4 separate regions of the Homo sapiens genome follow, and regions 1, 2 and 4 are each linked to region 3. The links are contacts of gene promoters, found by promoter capture Hi-C in blood cells and fetal thymus (Javierre and others, 2016). All regions are on one chromosome and are shown on one strand. The core of a region is centred on a gene start or on the middle of the fragment in contact, and the rest is flanking DNA. Distances in the headings are between cores, read along the strand shown. Region 1 holds the start of GABPB1 (GA binding protein transcription factor subunit beta 1). Region 2 holds the start of USP8 (ubiquitin specific peptidase 8). Region 3 overlaps DUT (deoxyuridine triphosphatase). Region 4 holds the start of SQOR (sulfide quinone oxidoreductase).

The links. The method cuts DNA at HindIII sites, captures the fragments that hold promoters and counts their contacts. A CHiCAGO score of 5 or more calls a contact.
Region 1: the fragment with the promoter of GABPB1 here is called in contact with a fragment that was not itself captured in region 3 in 5 of 17 cell types (total CD4 T cells, fetal thymus, total CD8 T cells and 2 more); the score reaches 9.9 in total CD4 T cells.
Region 2: a contact is called between the fragment with the promoter of USP8 here and a fragment that was not itself captured in region 3, in 1 of 17 cell types (fetal thymus). The highest score is 7.1, in fetal thymus.
Region 4: a contact is called between the fragment with the promoter of SQOR here and a fragment that was not itself captured in region 3, in 3 of 17 cell types (total CD8 T cells, naive CD8 T cells and total CD4 T cells). The highest score is 8.3, in total CD8 T cells.

What each region holds. Positions count from the first base shown.
Region 1 is chr15:50,351,167-50,356,447 of GRCh38, reverse strand. GABPB1 (GA binding protein transcription factor subunit beta 1) reads left to right here and starts at 1,250. Exons shown (of 9, transcript NM_016654.5): 1 at 1,250-1,463. GABPB1-IT1 (GABPB1 intronic transcript) reads left to right here and starts at 1,569. Exons shown (of 1, transcript NR_026891.1): 1 at 1,569-5,281. It overlaps GABPB1-AS1 (GABPB1 antisense RNA 1), which reads right to left and starts at 2,274. Exons shown (of 1, transcript NR_024490.1): 1 at 1-2,274. RefSeq lists enhancers at 697-776, 845-1,468, 2,207-2,266 and silencers at 977-1,026, 1,607-1,856, 1,867-2,076. The HindIII fragment of the contact is 652 bases long and covers 805-1,456 here.
Region 2 is chr15:50,421,372-50,426,598 of GRCh38, reverse strand. USP8 (ubiquitin specific peptidase 8) reads right to left here and starts at 2,194. Exons shown (of 20, transcript NM_005154.5): 1 at 2,085-2,194. RefSeq lists enhancers at 1,947-2,336, 2,375-3,371 and a silencer at 2,447-2,496. The HindIII fragment of the contact is 13,730 bases long and covers 1,646-5,227 here.
Region 3 is chr15:48,333,645-48,338,543 of GRCh38, reverse strand. DUT (deoxyuridine triphosphatase) reads right to left here. Exons shown (of 7, transcript NM_001025248.2): 3 at 4,036-4,127; 4 at 2,454-2,498. Among named protein-coding and RNA genes, the nearest start is that of DUT-AS1, 4.2 kb to the right of the region's middle. RefSeq lists a silencer at 1,458-1,527. The HindIII fragment of the contact is 2,422 bases long and covers 2,341-4,762 here.
Region 4 is chr15:45,633,779-45,639,469 of GRCh38, reverse strand. It overlaps SQOR (sulfide quinone oxidoreductase), which reads right to left and starts at 4,441. Exons shown (of 10, transcript NM_021199.4): 1 at 4,362-4,441. RefSeq lists enhancers at 1,671-1,730, 1,761-1,840, 3,670-3,719, 3,750-3,839, 4,302-5,297 and a silencer at 4,320-4,489. The HindIII fragment of the contact is 3,121 bases long and covers 2,049-5,169 here.

The DNA.
Region 1 (5,281 bases), core at 1-2,500, 2.0 Mb before region 3:
GAAAAACATCAGAATTTGGCAAATTTCTATTAACTGAAGAAATGAAAATATTAAATCAAAAGAAAACACAGCCTATGGTTCCTATGCTTTTTTTCTATTTTAGGCACAATGCTTTAATAAATTACACAAAGACTACAAACCTTTATTACATCAATTGTTACAAAAGGCTAAGTGGAGAAAGATTACTTATCTGAAGCTGCACAAAATCAGTGGGCAATATGGATTTCATTTAAGCTTGTCAATTCTCCTGGATTAAATTCTTGGCGCTGTCTCACATATTCCCAAGTCCTACATGTAGGATGCTAAAAGTTGCAGTTACTAGGTTGGGAAAGCCATGCCCAGACGCCCCTGTGAAAAACATATCAATATATTAAGTTCCTTAGCAAATCACATCTAGATTAAGTTCATAATGCTTTTTTTTTTTTTAACTTTGCAAATCTCCAAACTTTTGCTACTTTCTTAATAAAATACAACAAAATTTTTGGCATTCCAGCCACGGAAAAACAGATCTCTACCTCTGAGGTGGCAGTAATCCAAGCAGTTACTAGGATCTACGAAACATGAGGCATAATTAGAATGTTGGGGAAAAAATCTACAGAAATATCTATATCTTCGTCATGAACCTGACTGTTGAGTTTATGAAAAAGTGGAAAAGGAACCTCACTCGTTCCTTCCCTGGTACCTTCACAGCGTCTCCCGTCCCAGTCTGCCTAGTTGAATCTAGGGACACTTAAAGGTAAATCCTAGCCTCTTGGCTGTCCTTCCGTCTCCCAGGATTCTGCTAGGCCGCACAGTTGGCAAGCTTAAAACTCCAAAGATTCCGCACTCTCCGTCTTTCAACAGTCATGTCACAGAGACACGAAGGTTAGCACAGGAACATTAGTTTCCAAACTCCTACCCACCGCAGAACAGGCGGGAAGGTTCGGTGGCCACCCGGCCTCTCCGCCGCGCACATGGCCGTCCGCAGCTCCCACCCCCGCTGCCGCGCAGGCGCCGGGCGAGCCGGGACTTGCGGTCGCCGAGAGCGGATCATTCCGCCGCTTTCTTTGTGTGGCTGAAGCGCTAGAAATGGCATATTTTCTTTCCCTTCGTTAAAAAATCAGACCCTCTTTCCCCTCTCTCCCCGCGGGAACACAGCTAGGGAGTGGGTAGGAGCAGGATCTGCCGACGAGGGCAGAGGCGGAAAATCCTCGGGCGATGAGCTGAAGAGGGCCGGGTCCGGGAGGGATGCTGGGAGCTTGACTCACTCGCACACCATGTGTCCCTCCGCGCGCAGCACGGGGGACTTTTCGGTGGGGATTTTGGGCGCCGACCAGACGCGGCATTTTCGGAAAATAGCGCCCTGTGCAGCTGAAGCGCTTTGTGTGTAGCGGGGCCGCGTCAGCCCGGCCGGGTACGAGGCGCCTCGGGTCCCCGCACCACCTCCTGCTGCCTTCCCGTCGCCGCTCCCGAAGCTTTTCCAGGTCAGTGCGGGTCTGTGTAGGGCCCTGTTACCACCGGATGTGGAAGTTGATCTCTTCGCTGGTAAAAAATAATTCCACTTCCCCCGGAACCCAGATCATCCCCGCGATTTCCTGTTTATTGCATTAAGGCGCCGGGTTTCCGGGGCTCCTGGCCCCGCTTATTCCGCGGGGGTCGGCGGGGTCGGCCTGGGCGCCCGCGCCGCCGCTGCGCTTTGTCCGCTGGGCACACTGCTTCTGGGAGGGGCGGGCAGACATGGTGGCGGCCGCCGCCCCCTCCTCGGCCCTAGCATGCCGCGGCCGCCTCGCGGCTACCCGGCTTGCCGGTCCCGAGCGGCAGCCCCGGGGTGGCGATGGGGTCGCGCCGAGGCAGCGGAGGTTCTGCGGGCGACTGGAGGTTGGCAGTGGGCGGGAGAAAGAGGAAGGCAGGCGCGGCTGGGCCTCGGCCTCTGGCGCCGCGGTACCCTTTGTCTCGGCAGCCTGACGGCCCCGCCGGGCTCTCCGGAGAGGGGAACGGGCGGCGAGGGTGGCGGGTCCTGGGCGCCCTGTGCTGCGGGGCCGAGAGGCGCTCGGGTCGCGGCGGGATCGGCCGGACCAGACAGGGTTAATGGAAGAGCCTGGCCAGTCCCGCGCGGGGCCCCCGCAGCGACAGCCTTGGCCGCGGGGACTGGAGTCCTGAGGGGGAGAAGCCTGCCGTTCTGAAGGCTCGGGACTTCTGCCCCAAAGACTTCGCCGCCGAGAACTGCGGGTGCACTGCCTCAGGGAAGAAGTTGAGAATTTTGCCAGGTCATCTCTGCCAGGGCACAGTTCATCACTGTGTGTTTAGTGTGTTTCGGTGAAGCTCTCCAAGTGTGTTGAATCAGCGTGCCTAGCCTCAAGGGTGCATCGTGAAAACTGAAACCAAAGGAATGATACAGGCCTGCTTTGTGTGTGTCTTCCCACTTTAAGCTTGTTTTCAGTACAAATACTCTTGCTTTAAACCTGATTGGACTGTGGCGAGCGGACATCTGTTCAAAGGAGGGGCCGAGACCACAGTACTTCTGAAGGGGGCTTGATAATGTGGAAACATTTTAAGTTTTCTCTCCGGACTGTTTTGCTCTCTCAATTCAGGCAAGTTACTGAAGTACGTTTTTTATCTAGAAAAAGGTTTGATGTAGTCTGTAAATGGTCCTTGTAAAGTACATTGCCATCTCAGAATTAAAAGATCCACTCTCATTTATTATGCAGAAGTTAGTGGTCATTCTTTCCTGTAGATAGTTTATCTCATGTAAAGACCCACCCAGCTTGGTTTAAATTTTTTTCTCACTGACGTATAACCATCAGCTTTGATACTTCCATTTTCAGGCTCAGACTTTGAATTTAAGGAAACTAAAGATGACTTTATTTTCTTTTCTCTTGGTTTTTTTTTTCCAAAAACAAAAAATAAATCCATTACATGTTAACATAGATGATAAGAGTGACATCTTGCATTTTTGCAAATCTTTTTAATGCCTGGTTTAATAGAAGATTCTCAGATCTACGTCAGACTGTTGTGGTTAGCACACCATGTAACCTCTGGAACACTCCACTGTACACTCATACTTTTTTAAAAAAAAAACCAAAAAACAGAAATGTGTCATTCTTACCGTGCTTTCACCATACAAGTCAAATCAAGCTGTTATGCAAGACACATTTTAACAAGACTGAATAAGATTGATTCCCATACTTTTTTTACTGGGCTCTAACTTTTTTAAAAGTTGGAATTTAGGTGACTAAACAAAATCACAGATGAAGACTGCATAATCTGCCTATGATCTCGGAGACTCAGGAACATTCGAAGATATTCTTAAGTGATTAAAACATTTAATTCTATTACATATTTATAATGATTTACACAAGTAACACGTGAATTCCACATATGCTATCAACACTTGTGTAAATGTTATCTTTAAAGATAGAACATGTTGAAAATTATAGGAGGTACAGATTTTACAGAAAATTAATTCTGCAGTGAATCCTTTGGTGAAACGAACAGTTTGCAGAGACATATCCTTAGAGTTCTTTGTCTCTCTGAATCATTCTGGGTTTTCTAGGTTGGGAGACAATTATACTTATTGGGAGACAATTATACTTAATTGATTAATGCATAAAAATTTAAGGCCGTATTTTAATGGCTTTGAAAGGAAGCTAAGTTTGTTTCCAGTTGTTTCTGTGAACTGTAGTCTGAATCTGTCAGTCTATAGTTCTCTACTGTTCCATCAACAGGAAGCATCTGGTCATTCTTCGTGTAATTGTTAGAAAATACCAGGTGTACTTTTAATGTTTGCTGTTCAAACGAAAATAGATTGGATCTTGGTTAAGTTCACTTGGTTTGGCCAGGCACAGTGGCTCACGCCTGCAGTCCCAGCACTTGGGGAGGTGGAGGCGGGCCGATCACCTGAGGTCAAGAGTTTGAGACCAGCCTGGCTAACGCGGTGAAACCCCATTTCTACTAAAAATACAAAAAATTAGCTGGGCGTGGTGGTGCGCGCTTGTAATCCCAGCTACTCGGGAGGCTGAGGCAGGAGAATCGCTTGAGCCAGAGAGGCAAAGGTTGCAATAAGCCAAGATAGCGCCATTGCATTCCAGCTTGGGCAACAGGAGCGAAACTCTGTCTCAAAAAAAAAAAAAAAAGTATGCTTGGTTTTAGTGTGTTTTTTCCCATAACATTGTGTCATTGTAATGGACCACATCTCCTGTACCATGAATTTTTTTTTACTTTTTTCTTTTGCCCCTCAGTACCAGAAATATTAACAGGTAACAGGTAAAGTGCACGTCATGAGGAATTCAGAAATTCAGAAATTACATGAAGTTTTGCATCATGAATTTATTTTTGAGGGTGCACGAGGCAGTTACCCAGTCTCTGTTTGCAAGTAGCCTGAGTTCAGATGAACTCACTGATGGCCTCCATCTCTTCTGACTTTGCAAACGTTGAAAAACAAACCCACACAAAATCTTGAAGTTGAGAGCAACTTAGTTTCCTTAGTGTCATCCCTCTGCTCCCCTCTCCTCCCCAACAACTAGTATGGTTTCCAGCTAGTAATCACAATGTTTCTATAGCTCTGATGTGCCTACATTGGGATAGCTACAATTAGTATTATAGTTTTCTGAAGATGTTTGTTCCATCATGCTTTCTAGAAGGTAAATCTAGCACTAGATGAGATCAGTATTAGGGCCTGTGTTTTTTCTCAGTGTTGACATCACAGTGCTCTATACAAAGAAGATGCTTTGGTGCAATCAGCTGTCAGTTCAGTTGGTGGGCTAGTGCACCTTTCTGTCTCCCTCCCTCCCTCCCTCCCTCCCTCCCTCTTTCCTCTCTCCTTCTCCCTCTGTCCCTCTCCCTCTCTCTCCTTCCCTCCCTGTTTTCCCCTTTGCACCTCTTCTTTCTTTGACAGGGTCTTGCTTTCTCTGTTACCCAGGCTTAGTGCAGTGGTGCGATTATACTTCACTGCAAGCTCCACCTTTCAGGCTCGAGCGATCCTGCCTCTGCCTCAGCCTCCTGAGTAGTTGGGACTACAGGTACCTGCCAACATGTCTGGCTAATTTTTTAATTTTTTGTAGAGACGAGATCTCACTGTGTTGCCCAGGCTGGTCTCAAACTTCTGGACTCAAGTGATCCTCCCACCTTGGCCTCCCAAGTGTTGGGATTATAGGCGTCAGCCAACACACCCATCTGTGAATAATTCTGAAGTTGGTAGAACAGCTTATTGACAGAGCAAGGTGTTAGCCCCACTTTACTGTGTACTAGTTATATTATATTTGGGGTATTGTGTTGGCTTTTTGGGTAGCATACTATCATAAGT
Region 2 (5,227 bases), core at 945-3,444, 2.1 Mb before region 3:
CTAGCCAACATCAAACGCCTTCACGTGAATTAGCCATTTTGGATGTCCAGACCAGCTGAGCTCTCGGTTGACTCCAAACTCAGCTGCTTATCTGAATACAAACGCATTAAACTCTAGGTGAAAACCACTTAGCTAAGTCCAGGCAGGCCAGAGAAACAGGAGAGATACTAAATTACAGTTTTAAGTCACTATGTTTTGGAGTGATTTGTTATGCAGCAATAGGTAACTGGGACAACAACAAGGTATTTTTTAAATGTTTCCTTAATTATATCTAATTTTATTAGCAACACATACCTGAAGACATTTTTTTCCTTTCACTTCCATAAATATGAGTGCATTTTCATGGAGAAAAGTTCGTAATATAGTGCTAGACTTATGAAAAAAATTTAATGTACTGGCTTTATTTTCCAACTGTCTTACCCAAAAGTCATTTTGATTATTTTCCATTATGTCCACGCTTTTTATTTTTTATTTTTTGAGACGGAGTTTTGCTCTTGTCACCCAGGCTGGAGTGCAATGACGCAATCTCGGCTCACTGCAACCTTCGCTTTCCAGGTTCAAGCGATTCTCCTGCCTCAGCCTCCAGAGTAGCTGGGACTACAGGCGTGCACCACCACGCCCAGCTAATTTTGTATTTTTAGTAGAGACCGGGTTTCGCCATGTTGGCCAGGCTGATCTCGAACTCCTGACCTCAGTGATCCGCCCACCTCCGCCTCCCAAAGTGCTAGGATTACAGATGTGAGCCACTGCGCCCAGCCACGTCCACATTAATAAACAAATGCCCATAAAGATTAAAGTCCAAGTAAATATATTAAAAAACGAAATGCTAAAAAAGGCACCTTTAAAACATTTTTGTTAGTTTTTCTTATACATTGTTTTCTTAAAAAAACAGATGTCTATGTGCAAAATTTCATTAATGAGAGGTGTATTTTTTTTTTAAACTACTACAGGGTCTTCACTAATATTAAAGATGCATCCAATGTGTCACAAGAAAAGGAATACATATTTCAAAGCAGCCATATCAACATGATAAAGACATAACACAACCGATATCACCTTCCAGATATGCTTAATAGTCCAGGGATATGCTGTAAGGAGAAACTACCCAAATCCATCATGAATGACATTCACCAACGAATCTTAAACAGAATCGGCTGAAATGCAAAAATCTGCTTACATAGCAAAGCCGCAGCAGAGCAAGCCTAAAACAGGAATACTTCCTTAACAAATACCACTTGGCATTTTTAATGGCTGCAGCAAGATATTTACAAAACTAACGATGCTTTGCAGATTCAGAAAAGGTAACATCCTTTAGATATAAATCCCTTTCATCTGAAACCCTCAGGTCTCTTAACAAATACTAAATTCCTTAGGCTCTGCAACACCTCCGTGTCAGGTAAATTTTTTGTTAGTGATTAAGTGACTTGTTCAAGGTCACAGAATGAACTGGAGGCAAGAAATAAACCCAGGAGGGTGGTCTGCAGCTTTATAATGCACATCACTGCTAGTAAGGATTCTGATAATTTCCAAGGTGGAGTGGCGGTGAAATTAACTTGTCCCACAACTCTAGGATGGAAGGCACTTTTTAGGGGAAAAAAAAAAAATCTTCTATTTGAGGAAGTCATAGTTTTAACTCTGACAAGCTTATAGGGTCTTTAAACTCAAACTTCACTAAAATCAAGTGTGACTGGGGAAGAAGAGAAACTGGGAAACAGTTTTAGGAGCTACAGTAAGGCCTGGGATTGTAGGCAGATTGCAGAAAAAAAAAAAAACCGGAAGCAAGAGGAAAGAGGTCAAAGTCGGGTATAAGTGTCCAAGAGAACGGAAGATTGGTCAAAGCCACCTTTTAAAACCAAAAAAACACACGAAACTCGCTTGGCAATCCTAGGTAGATGGCGTAAAAGACTCAAGGTTGGGCCTTTCCTCTCCACAAGCTGATTCTACCTTTAGGAGTTGTCCCACTCCTCTCCGCGGACAGAGCTTGTCTCCGGGGTAACCAGCAGCTGGTGGAAGGAAAGGCGTTCATCGTTCACAGCGGACGACTTCCCAGAGAACAGGTGCTAGGGCCCAAGACCCGCACTCACCGTGACGCCGGGCGCGCTTCACTAACGCCAGCCTTCTCGCCAAATGCCCATCTCCCAAGAACTCGAGGGAGAATTAGCCTTGGCTACCAGGACGGAAGCCAGCCCAGCTCACCCCCTTTTCCCGATTTGCATTGCGAGGCGACGCGTCGCGTCTCCAGACGTCACGGCAGGGGCGGGGCTTCGCGTGCGCTCCCTTGACTCCTCTCTCTTCCACCGCCCTCCCCTTTTCGGTGAGGGCCGCGGGGCGAGGGATGGTCGAGGGAGGGTCGAGGAGGACGTTATGGGTGGGCGGTGGCGGCAAGGGCGGGGTTTCTCTGAGTCGGGTCAACATAGTTGGCCGGTCCCTTACCCCCCGCACTGCACCCTGCATTTCCGGGTTGCAAGGCGGCGCCTGGGCCTTGTTGTGGAAGAAGCAAGGTTGCTCTTGCGTCCCTTTACTACGTTATTTTCCTCCTCAGATTGGAAATTAGAAAAAAGGGGATTTAACGCCCCTCTATTTCTGGCTAAACATTCTCTGAAGCCAAGCCTTTGGTCAAAGAAAAACAAGTATTATCCTAAAACATATTTTATGTACAATTTTTAACGTCACTTAAAAGGCCCCGGCGAGGCTGGGCACGGTGGCTCACGCCTGTAATCCCAGCGCTTTGGGAGGCCGAGGCGGGCAAATGATGAGGTCAGGAGTTCGAGACCAGCCTGGCCAACATGGTGAAACCCCCGTCTCTATTAAGAATACAAAAAATTAGCTTGGCGTGGTGGCGTGCGCCTGTAATCCTAGCTACTCCAGTGGCTGAGGCAGGAGAATTGCTTAAACCCGGGGAGCGAAGGTTGCAATGAGCCGAGATCGCGCTACTGCACTCCAGCCTGGGCAGCAGAGCAAGACTCCGTCTGGTTGGGCGAAGGCCCCGTGTAATAGAAACGAAATGAGACGTCTGAACTTTCTCGCGAGCTGATCTTTGTACTCTCTTAGAGAAAGGTGATTGGATGCTCCGGTTGCCTGTAAACATAAAATTGACTTGGGTGGAGCTTTAGGCAGTAGTCACTAAGTCCTCAGGAACATTCCAGGTGTCTCAGGGATGGGAAATCTGGCTAGCGAGGTCTAGTAAATGCTTTAAGTGAAAGTGTGTGCCACATGGTACAGTGTACACTGCTCGGGTGATGGGTGCACCAAAATCTCAGAAATGACCACTAAAGAACTTTTCCATGCAACCTGTTCCTCCAAAACTACTGAAATAAAAATTTTTAAAAATAAAAAAGGATAAAATAAAGAAAGTGTGTTCAATGAATTTGTGATGAAGGCCAGGTTGCAGTGGCCCAGGCCTGTAATCCCAGCACTTTGGGAGGCTGAGGCAGGAGGATCCCTTGATCCCAAGAGACAGAGACCAGCTTGAGCAACAAAGGGAGACCCTCATCTCTACAAAACAAAAATTTAAAAATTAGACCGGGAGCGGTAGCTCACGCCTGTAATCCCAGCACTTTGGGAGGCCAAGGTGGGCAGATCACTTGAGGTCAGGAGTTTGAGACCAGCCTGGCCAAAATGGCAAAACCTGGTCTCTACTAAAAATACAAACATTAGCTGGGCATGGTGGCGCGTGCCTGTAATCCCAGCTACTGAGGAGGCTGAGTCAGTGAATCGCTTGAACCTGGAAGGTGGAGGTTGCAGTGAGCCGAGATCGTGCCACTGCACTCCAGCCTGGGCAACAGAGCGAGACTCCTTCTCCAAAGAAAAAATCTAAGTTACAAATAGGATTTCCATTTTCCATAGAATCTAAAACTCCCCAAATTGCTGTGAACTACAGCAGTATTTTCTCCATTTGGTAAGAGACATAAGGACAGCTTAACTACCCTTCTTTATCCAAACTAAGTCAAAAACAGAACCCAGGTTTCCTGATTCCCACTCCCAAGTAAAACTAAATAGGTTTTATGTATGTTGCAGCTGTTGCACCCTTTTCCTCTTTGAAATAAAACTTTTCTATTTCATTGGGGAAAGAAAACATGACTGAAAGTCCAAAATGTGGCCAGGCGCGGTGGTTCATGCCTGTAATCCCAGCACTTTGGGAGGCCAAGGCGGACGGATCACGAGGTCAGGAGATCGAGACCATCCTGGCTAACACGGTGAAACCCCATCTCTGCTAAAAATACAAAAAATTAGCCAGGCGTGGTGGAGGGCGCCTGTAGTCCCAGCTACTCAGGAGGCTGAGGCAGGAGAATGGCGTGAACCCGAGAGGTGGAGCTTGCAGTGAGCCGAGATGGTGCCACTGCACTCCAGCCTGGGCGACAGAGCAAGACTCCATCTCGAAAAAAAAAAGAAAGTCCAAAGTGTTAGCTTAGAGCTCAAAACACTAGCTGCTGTTTCAAGGTCCAGGACATTAAATCCAGATGAGGGCCTTCACCTTTGACACCTGCCCTCGAGTCCTTCAGACATGTTGAGAGAGACTGAGACAGGGGTCTTGCAGGGTCAGGCAGGAAGGAGAAGCACAGCAATATACATATATAATATACATAAAACTGATTAGATTTGTTTAAGAGTGGTGGGGATTAGGGCCATGTGGAGAACTCATGGCCTGTCTACATTGTTGCCATGTGGTAATGGGGCAGAGTATTGCCAATTTTCTGATTTTCTGTGTGTGGGAAAAATCTCCAAACTGGTTTTTAAATTTGGGGAATATATATATATATATATATAACCCATATACATACGGATTATGTTAGTTGACAACAACAGTATACATAAAAAAATTTACAAACACTGCAAAACAAATAAAATCCAAGCCATCCATTTGTGACCATAGTCATAAGCATTAACTTAGCCAGGGGCTTTTAGATAATTCTCTGTTAAAGAGGAATTCTGAGAAAAGACTAAGATAACCAAAATGAACATAATGTCAAAGAATGAAATCATGGGAACAATTTGGATTTTGTTCCAAAGTCAAGTGTTTTTTAAAGAATCTTTCCATACTTCATGTTTTGTTCTATGGAGTTCAACCTTTTGACTTCCATGGCCCTTTAGATCTCTTTCGAGCACATTCCATGATTTTTCTCCTGATCATACTCCCTCCACAAAAACCTTTTTCAGCTGGGTGTGGGAGCTCACTCCTGTAATCCCAGCACTATGGGAGGCTGAGGTGCGTGGATTGCTTGAGGTC
Region 3 (4,899 bases), core at 2,302-4,801:
TTTTTTTCCTCCCATTTGTTGGACATTTGCATGTCCTTGTCTATATTTTGTGTATGTTTTTTTCTCATTTGTTCTTTTTCATATAAGTTGCAAATATTTGCTTGTTGGCTTTATAGTATCTTCTAACATACAAAAACACTCCCTTTTTGAAAGGCCTCTGCTAACGTATCTGTAAAGCAGTCCTATCAGAACTACTCAAATGATTGGGTGTCTTGAATCCTGCAGATAGGTGATCTTTATGCTTGGGCCACGAAAATGTGAAAAACCTTTAAGTGACTAAAAGAAATTAAGAAGTTTGAAGTCAATTCAAATGTATGGCAGAAAAAAAGGCCCTCAATAGTTTTTTTTTTTGCATGAATGTTGACGGTATAAAAATTTCAGTAGTTCCAAATTCATTTACCACCCAATTGCCATTCGACCTCCAAGAAAAGCCTTCTCTGCCTACAGGATATAAGTATCAGGGATATTTCTCCTCAGAGAAAGCAGAAAGTAACTTGAAGTTATCACTGGAAAAATCATGCATTGGAACTGGCAGAGTGATTAACTGACTTCAGGCAAAAGTTTTACTGTGTCAAGAGTTTGGCATGTCATTTGTTGGAAACCTTTTTTAGTGAAAAACTATCCACACCTACCAGATGTGAATTCTGAACAGAATCCTGAATGCTCAACTTTTCCCTTTGACCCTTATTTAGAGCCTGGGATTTCTAACAACATCTCTCTTCAGAAATAAAAACTGTTGCCAACTATGATAAACTTGTGCCTAAGGGAGATTGTTAAGATTCTCTGCATCCAAGAACACACCACAATGTGATTTTATGAATAACACCATACCAACCACTAGGCAAACTAACTTTCCATTCTTTTACATGAATTTTTTTCCAGAAAGTTGTTTTAAACAGAGCAAAAATTAGTAACAAAGTCGAATAAAAGAAAAAGTTTCCACATAAAAACAATCTGTGAAGTCCCTAAGGACAGAAATTATATCTCACAGAATCTAATATGTGCCAAGTACTATATTAGGTATTTCATACACATTATCATTTAATCCTCCTACCTCTAGAGGCAGGCACACTAATTTCCATTGTAAAATGAGGAAACAGGCTCAGAAAGGTTAAGTAATAACTAGTTAATGACAGAGCTGGGACCTACATCCAGTTGTTATTCCAAAGCTCCCGTTCCTTGAACAATCATTTGAAACTTCATTGAAAATATATACAATTATTTATATCCTTAAGTTACTGTCCCAAAATGACCACAGTTGACCTTGTAAAAGCATTTTTGAACATCGGGCATAACTTACAGAGCCCAAGGAATCCTCAACCCAAGAGTGGGCTGTCAATGTCCACCCTGCTATGTAAAACTCAGCTCCCCTTTAGTCCCTAAAGGGTGTACTTTTGGGGTCCTGTCTTGTCCCACAGCACCACCTGGTGACACTATGGAGAGACACCACACCCACCAAATGTTAGACTAAGGGGCAGGTCTAGGATAGCCAGGTTTCATTAAGTGCTTAGTTAGCCCTTGCAGTGGCACATAAAAGTGAGCTAATTCTGGACGTGTTTAGTTGGTGAGGGGGATGCAGCAGGGTAATCTCCACAATTAATTGCAGTGGAAAGAACAAGGAGGCTGGAATCACACAGAGACTCCAGTTTTTACCACATATCCATGTGGGCTCATTTCTAAGCCAGTTTTCCTGATCTGTTAACAAGCCTCCATAAAGCAGCTCTGTAAAAACGGGTGGAGGAGGAGATCTAGCACACCTACTTATGTGGGGGCCAAGGTATCTTGTTAAGTGAAAGATTCACTACTGATGGGATAAAGGGTCAGTATGTAAGGACCACATAAGTGGGGTCTGAATCCCAGTTGGAGCGGACCTGAAACAAGGAAACCACATCAGGAAAGTAGAAATTTCCTTACAATAAGAGGAGTAGCTCTGTATCAAGAGTAGTTAGCAGAGGACACTGAGGGTTCTTCATGAAAGGTACCACATGAGGTAGGGTTAACTTTGAGACAAACATGAGAAAGGCTTTATTATAAGGGAAACAGGTAACACAGAGGACTGTCTTAACAAATTTAGAGAAAAGTGTTTTCTCTCCTGACTTCAGGGAAAGATTTTCTTCTTAAATTTTGCTAAAGACAGATAGCTCTCTTATGAAGAAAATTCTTACAAGATAGACCTGTGTTTTCTAGAACTTTTGTTGCTTAAATAATTACTTAATTATTATATCATTAAATCTGTCATTATTAATTAGGTAATCATTATTTTAAAAATTAAGTTAGTAGTTAAACAAAATATAATTACTTAAAATAACCACAAAGCTTTTCCTCCTATTATAACAAGCTTTCCTCTAATCATTTTCTTTTCTTAAAAATAAAATCTGTCATTTGAATATTACCTTTTAAAGACAAAGTAAATACTTGCAAACATTTACAGAATAAAAAAGGAAATATATTACCTCCTACATCAATAAAGTGTTTTGCAGCCAAGCCTGACCGTGGAGCTAAAAAACAAAAAAGGAGACATTGGTTATTTTAAGGGGGAAGGGCTATATCAGAGATAACTGATGCAATTTAAGCATGTCATTCTCTTCACCTATAATATCTATATCTTCATCTTAACTTTAGCACATGGTTTTGAATTAAAGAATATATATTCATCATACTGCATTACCAAAGTTGGAAAGACTAGTTTAGAAAAATTCCACAAGGTTTTAATTCAAAACTAACTTAAACCACTCCCATGTGACTTCAGTCAGAATTTGTGGTGCTGCAGACAGGGGAGAAGGACTGCTAGAATGAGCTGAAAGGTGAGCAAGCGGGAACAACTGTAGGCTGCTCTTTCAAGAAGTTAAGCCTCAAAGGGGAAGAAAGAGAAGTATGGCCAGCAGGAACACACTACTGAGGAAGAAGACTTTGGTTTTAAGATGGGACACCACAACATGTACAATGCAGATGGGAAGGGAAAGGAAGAGGAAGGGAGAGGGAAACAAACCTAACCAAATAGTAGCAGACCATAGCCTACAACTTGGGACCCCACTATTCATGATTCAGATGCCAAAAGACATGCCTGTAGGAAACACATGAACCAGAGTAAGATAAATGGGCTAATATCAGTTAAGTAAAAATGCCAAAAACTAAGTCTCAATGATTCAATGCTAGTATACTTTTTAATCCTAAAAAATGAAAAAAATAAAAAGCTAAGGTTACACCTTATTATTGCAGACTCAAGCATCAGGCCTATAATTAATTATCCTAACTTCCAGCATTTTATTTTAGAATAATTTAAATCAGGCACTTTGTCAATAATGCTGCCTCTTTCTGTACTAACCTTTATTTCACTCCATCTCCTGCCCCTTCCCCTGAAAAAATTCTAAAAAATGGAGTCAATGATGCTCAAGAGATGAGATGAGAGCCCATCTTGTTATCTTTTAAGGGCTGAAGTACTGGCAGTTTCCTCACTCATGGCTAATAATATAGTGCCAGTCTAGCTCCTTTCCCTGGAGGAGGGCGTCACAGCTCCATTGCCTCCTTTATGTTTACTCTGAAGTTAGTCAAAAAGAACTTACGCTCTTGCAAAGAACTGTCTGGTAACAACTGATCCGCTCCAGAAAAATCAAACCTGTTGACGTGTACTCCATTTTGTCCTAGCTCCTCCCAGTGCCTCTACAACACTGAAGAGTATCCCTTACCCTAACCCCATGGCCAAACAAGAAAAGGTTAAGTAGGCTTACACATTCTGGGACCAACAGGTCAGAAGTTTTACTCTCATAATATAAAATGCCATGTTCTGAGAACAGCCTTCTAGGCCAGTGTGAGCCTAAAAGCTCCAGTGAGGAAGGAGAAAAATAAAAGGGTCAAAAAGAGGCAAAGCAGAGATGTAAATAAAGCCTTTCAAAGAGTGCATTTGCTATCACAAATGGTGCTTCTTTTAGGACACAGCCCAAGCAATATTGCCTGCTTATTACCCCAAATGAAACATGAAGAATCTATCACAAAGGAGAACTTGACAAATAGTTACCTGTTTCTTAAATGACTTACCCACTCTTCCATAACACCCAGAAGGGAGCGCTATCTGAATGTCCGTTTTCACAACAGCTTTCTCCATAGGTGGTATTGTGTAATCATAGGCACTAAGAAAATATTGAAAGAAAATAACTGCAAATCTATTTATAAAATTGTTTTTATATTTTCTTTGTGACCAAGCATACAAAATTACTTTCAGTGTATTTAATGAATTAATGCAACTTTAGTTTCTAAAATCAACCTTGCTATGATGAATTACCAATTCATCTTAAAAGTTTATGAAGAAGGTAGAGGTGGCTATTTTATTATTAAAAAGACAGCTTTAGATAAAATAATTCTCCATGAATATTTTTGGTGGTGTGAAGAGATGTCAACATTGTAAATGTTTGCCCCTGAACAAAAGTTTATTGGAAACTGAGGTACTTATCAGCGTGAAAGGGCAGAAAGGCAAACTTTCAAAAGGTGGATGCTTTACAACCATAGTTTGAAAAGGAAAAAAATGAAGAAAGAACAAAGAAAAAAGGCCAAATACTACTAATAATACTAGCTATCATTGATTAAGCCTTTACTGTGTGCCAGGAACAGTTCTAATTGGTTTACATATATTAACCCATTTTATTCTCACAATGATCTGTGTGATTAGGGAAAATATGCAGAAGGAAAGGAGAAAAACGGGTGGACAAAATAAGAGATAAAGAACTGTGTTGTATCTGTCAGGCAGGGCTTGGTAGTTTACCAAGCTTAGGCTATGAATTTCCTGGCTGAGGGAGACAGCTGATCACCGTGAACGGCCCCTGGAGATGGACCTTGCTTAGGAACAGAATTCCTCTAAAGTCCACATAGCAAATGCTGCTACTCTTGATATTACTGTGGCCCTCT
Region 4 (5,691 bases), core at 3,192-5,691, 2.7 Mb after region 3:
CATGAAAGTTCCCTGAGGGCTGGGCTAGGGCCAAAACATGGAGATTCATTATGATCAGAAGGGAGTCACCCCATGGTATTTAAGGATGATCATAACATCATCACCCATCACCCACCATACATTTACAAAGTACTTACTATGTACATGGCACAACAGCTAACCTAGGTCACTTGCTGAAGAGGCCAAGTTTTTCTTTTCCTAACAGTCAAAATCATGAAGCTGAATATGGCTTTAACAACTTCAGGCAAGATCCTAGGGACCACACAGGGTGTCTGTAGAAGGAAAGTACATGGGAGACTCTTCTGCATAGGTTGGGTAAGAGATCCTAAGAGCAAGTGATGGACATGTCGGGATCATGACTTAAAAGAGATGGTGCCTAGTTGTAGCCATTTTTTTTAAACCTATTGTCCATTTGGTAGAACCAGTTGTATTAATTTTCTAGGGCTGCCATAACAAAACACTATAGACTAGATGAAGTCTAGAGAACAGAAATTTATTTTCTCAAAGTTCTGGAGATTGAAAGTCCAAGACCTCAGTGCTGATGAGACTGGTTTCTCCTGGGATCTCTCTCCCTGGTTTGCAGATGGCCACCTTCTCAGTGTGCCTTTGCGTGGCCTTTTCTCTGTGCACATGTGCTCCTGACGAGTCATCTTCTTATAAGGATACTATTCATATTGGATTAGGGCTCCACCTTAATGACCTAACTTAATTTTCCTTTTTTTTTTTTCTTTCTTTCTTTTTTTGAGACAGAGTCTTGCTCTGTTGCGCAGGCTAGAATGCAGTGGCATGATAATCTTGGCTCAATGCAACTTCCTCCTCTCCGGTTCAAGCAAGTCTCATGCCTCAGCCCCCTGAGTAGTTGGAATTACAGGTGCACACTACCCCACCCAGCTAATATTTTGAATTTTTAGTAGAGACGGGGTTCCTCTATGTTGGCCAGGCTGGCCTCAAACTCCCAGCCTCAAGCGATCTGCTTACCTCGGCCTCCCAAAGTGCTGGGATTACAGGCGTGAGCCACCGTGCCTGGCTAATTATTCTTTTATTGAGACAAGGTCTTGCTATGTTGCTCAGGCTAGCCTCGAACTTCTGAGCTCAAGCAGTTCTCCCACCTCAGCCTCCCAAGTAGCTGGGGCTACAGGTGCTCACCACCACTTCTAACTAAGGCACTATCTCCTAATACAGTCACATTCTAAGATCCTGGGGGCTAGGGTTTCAATATATGAATTTGGTGAGTCCATAACACCAGTATTTGCCCTTCCCAAAGTTACAGACATAGATAGTCCCAGTGTGTTCTAAATTTCCGAGGGTTTTTTTGTTCTGTTTTGTTTTTTTCCACAAAGTTCTCTACCTCCTGTCCCAATTTAGCACTTTCTCAATGTAAATCACAGGGATGGTTGGCTAGATCTACTTTTCTTTATTATTATTACCACCTACATCTGGGGATTACAAAGATTTTTAAGGCTGGGATTAAGAAGCAACTAGTTGGCTTCCAGCCAGGTCTGGGCAGCTTTCCATAAGCTATCCAAACTGCTCCTATTTACCAAGTCTTCAGAGTCAAAGAGGAGTTATATAGTAGATAGTGGAGCAGGGAAACGTGAAAGGAGAAGAAAAAAGTACATCTATGCCCAGAAATGCCTTGTCATGGGTCCGTCTCCATTCTTTATAAGACATTTCCTGTGTTACAACACATCGGATTAACAAAGCTAGACACAGGCAACATGGAGGAGAAACTGTTCTGCAAAGGAATCCGGTTTCCTTTCAACATTCAGTTTCATTTTCACTGGCAGAACACCAGCCACACAGACACGCACACACAGACCCTGGGCCCTGACTGACATTTCAAACACCCCCGTTCCAAATGTGTTTATATATTTTTCCAGCCAGAAAAAAAGCCCCAAATTTAAACAAAGTCATTTCCCAAACCACCAGCTGTCTCCTTAATGAATTTTGTTTTTTGGACTTAGTCACAAGCAACCCTTTCTGACCCACTTATTCATTCAATAAATAATGAGTACCTCCCCAGGCTTGGGGATATAAGGCCATAAGCTTGGGAGGGATACAAATAAGTTCTGATAAATGGTATCTACTTCAGCCCTCTACACTAAGTGCAGTGCTGGGTGCCTTAAATACTTGGGAAGGTGTTATTATCTCCACTGTACAATGAAGAAGCTGAGGCGAAAAGAAATTCAAAAGCCAAAGTTAAGCTGGGTGTGGTGGTTGCTTTGGGAAGCAGACAAGGGCAGATCACTTGAGGTCAGCAGTTCAAGACCAGCCTAGCCAATATGGTGAAACCCTGTCTCTACCAAAAAATACAAAAATTAGCCAGGTGTGGTGGTGGGTGGCTGGTGTAATCCCAGCTACTAGGGATGCTGAGGCAGGCGAATCACTCGAACCTGCGAGGAGGTTGCAGTGAGCAGAGATCACCTCACTGTACTCCAGCTTAGGCGACACAGCAAGACCATGTCTCAAAAAAAAAAAAAAGCCAAGGTTACAATGGGCCTTGGAAATGTCAATGGAAGTGTCAAGCCCAGAAGCCAAGTCATTGGGTCAGTGCCCTTTCTACTATCAGAGGATCTTAACCTGGACCCAAAAACTTAGATGGAAAAGTATTTTACATCTTTATTTTTACGGATATTTAATATTTACATCTTTTATTTCTCTAGTATCTAACTGAAATTTAACATTTACTTCAATTATGTATGTAGCCAACAAACCACAGCAGTATTGGCAATACTAAGACTTTGTCACCAATAGAAATCACAGATATTGGCCGTGCGCAGTGGCTCATGCCTGTAATCCCAGAACTTTGGGAGTCCAAGGTGGGCGTATCACAAGGTCAAGAGATCGAGACCATCCTGGACAATATGGTGAAATCCTGTCTCTACTAAAAATACAAAAATTAGCTGGGTGTGGTGGCACACACCTGTAGTCCCATCTACTCGGGAGGCTGAGGCAGGAGAATCACTTGAACCCAGCAGGCGGAGGTTGCATTGAACCGAGATCGCGCCACTGCACTCCAGCCTGGTGACAGAGTGAGACTCCGTCTCAAAAAAAAAAAAAAAAGAAGAAAGAAATTACAGATATTTTCTTATATTACAAGTATTACCTATATCTTGAAATAATTGTTTATGTTCTTTACTACTTCAAAATTATGGTAACTATTTAATCCACTGCTAGATCTTGTTATTTAATAACCTTGTTATTAAATAACGCATTCGTTTTTTAAAGACATATATATTACCATATCATAAATTCTTTTAATGTTTTGACATGTGTTTTGCAATTGGTTTCCTTTATAATACTCTTCCTTTTGTTTTATACCTTTAAAAAAGCATTGTTCTGGTCCAGCGCGGTGGCTCACTCGTGTAATCCCAGCACTTTGGAAGGCCGAAGTGTGCGGATCATTTGAGGCCAGGAGTTCGAGACCAGCTGGGCAACATGGTGAAACCCGCCTCTACTACAAATACTAAAATTAGCCAGGTGTGCTGCGCCTGTAATCCCAGTTACTCGGCAGGCTGAGGCAGGAGAATCGCTTGAACCCGGGAGGTGGAGGTGGCAGTGAGCCGAGATCGCGCCACTGCACTCCAGCTTGGGCGACAGAGCAAGACTCTGTCTCAAAAAAAAGTATTGTTCTGAGAGTCTTTAGCCTTCCCAGAAATGCCAAAGGGGTGCACAGCACAAAAATGGAACAGAGCCCTGCATTATAGCAATGGGCAGCGCAGGCAAAGCCAGGGGCTCTGTTCAGCGTCTTTGAGCAAAAAGCCAGGTTGGAATTTTGATAAATAAAAGAGACAGATGAAGAGGAAAGGAAATGAGCCCAGATTCCACCAGAAGACCCCTTCTCCCTTTCCACCAATTCCTGTTCAGCAGGTGCCCTAAATCCTCTCCCCTTCAGGTTTCAGCTGCAGCCGACCCCTCGAGCGCCCCCTCTGTCCCACGCGCAGTGTCGGTGGATGACTGTGTCAATCCCTGGCCCCCGGACGCCGAGCACCCACTCCCGCTCCAGGACGGTGCCGAGTGACAGTCAACAGGTGGAAGGCGCCAGAAACGTCCACACACCAAGACCACGGATACTTCGGTTTTTAAGCACCCCTCGCGGGTTGGCCTCTCCGCGGCCCTGAGGCTCTGACACTCTGAGAAGGAAGCAAGAGTCCCAAGACCCGGGTTCCAGACAAGGGCAGCAAGAGCTGCAGGTGTCCGGAGTTGAGGAAGCAAAGTTTGGGGCGCGGCGCACCGGGTCTGCGGAGTCCCAGCTGCGGAAACCGAGTTAAGCTAACAAACAGCCTCAGTGGTGGTCGCTGTCCCCGCCCAGTCTCCCTCCGCTGGCCCAGGGCCAAAGATCGGCCGCGGATGCCTCTTACCCGGGCGTGAGCGGAGCCTTCGGTCACTGCGTTGGCGCAGCAAAAACCTTCGCTCCCTTCTGGGTCTCAAGGCCTGGACTGGGGCCCCGCCCGCCTGCCATCCGGGCGGAGGCTGGAGGCGGGGAAAGCGAGGCTCCCCCCAGGAAAGGTCCCGAAAAGTCCCGCCGTGCCCCGCCCGGCGCCGCAGCCCAGGCACCATGGTCAGTGAACACACCAGGGCGTTGAGCGCTCACGGGGCACAGAACCAGGAACAAGCGTCCATCCGGCCTGGGGTGCTGCCGGCTGGACAGACTCGCCCCTTGCGCGCCCTGAAGGGCGGCCCCGCAGGCTGGGGCGCACAGGCGGAGGACACCGAGGCCACCTGACGCTTCCGCCCCTGGGTGCCAACAGCGTTTTGTAATCAGGGCAGGCAAAAGCGGAGGCGGGGCGCTGTGCAGAGAGGCTCTGGCTGTTCCCACTGGGTCCTCCTATGTGCCCTGGGCTTCTCACCGGGTTCACACAGCTGCCCAGAAACACAGGTATTCCCGCGCTCATTTCACAGAGAAGGTGACCGAGGTTCAGCTTTGGTGTGCGCTGGAGCCCTTCCTTCAAAACGCGCAGGCAGGGGTAAGCTGGCTTCCAGCCACTGGCCTCCACAGTGTCCCATCCCATATTCATGACTGGACATTTTCAGTTGGCGGCTCTTTCCAGGTTGATGTAAAGTCTCAGTGAGTGGTTCTCCACCATATCAGATTCAGTAACCCTTTTTACAATAAATACAGGGTGTCCCAAAAGTCTCATAACCTGAGAAGTGCAAGTGCTAGAAGCTTTCAAAAAAACAAACAAAAATAAACCCTTGAAAGTTTGAGTTTCTTTTACACTTATTTGGTTTTATGAATTTTGAATATATATATATATATATATATATATAGTTGTTGTTGTTGTTTTTTGAAACAGAGTCTCACTGTGTTGCCCAGGCTGGAGCGCAGTGAGTAGAGCAATCTCGGCTCACTGCAACATCTGCCTCATGGGTTCAACCAATTCTGGTGTCTCAGCCTCCTGAGTAGCTGGGACTACAGGTGTGTGCCACCATGCCCGGCTAATTTTTGTATGTTTCAGTAGAGATGAGGTTTCACCATGTTGGCCAAGCTGGTCTCAAACTCCTGGCCTCAAGCGATCTGCCCTCCTGGGCCTCCCAAAGTGCTGGGATTACAGGCGTGAGCCACCATGCCCAGCCTTGAATATTATTTTTTTAAATGTTTTCAACTGATACTTTCTATCTTTAATCAAAGAGACTGACTGTATCTATGGCAAAATCATCATGAACAATACAATACAAACGCAGACTGTA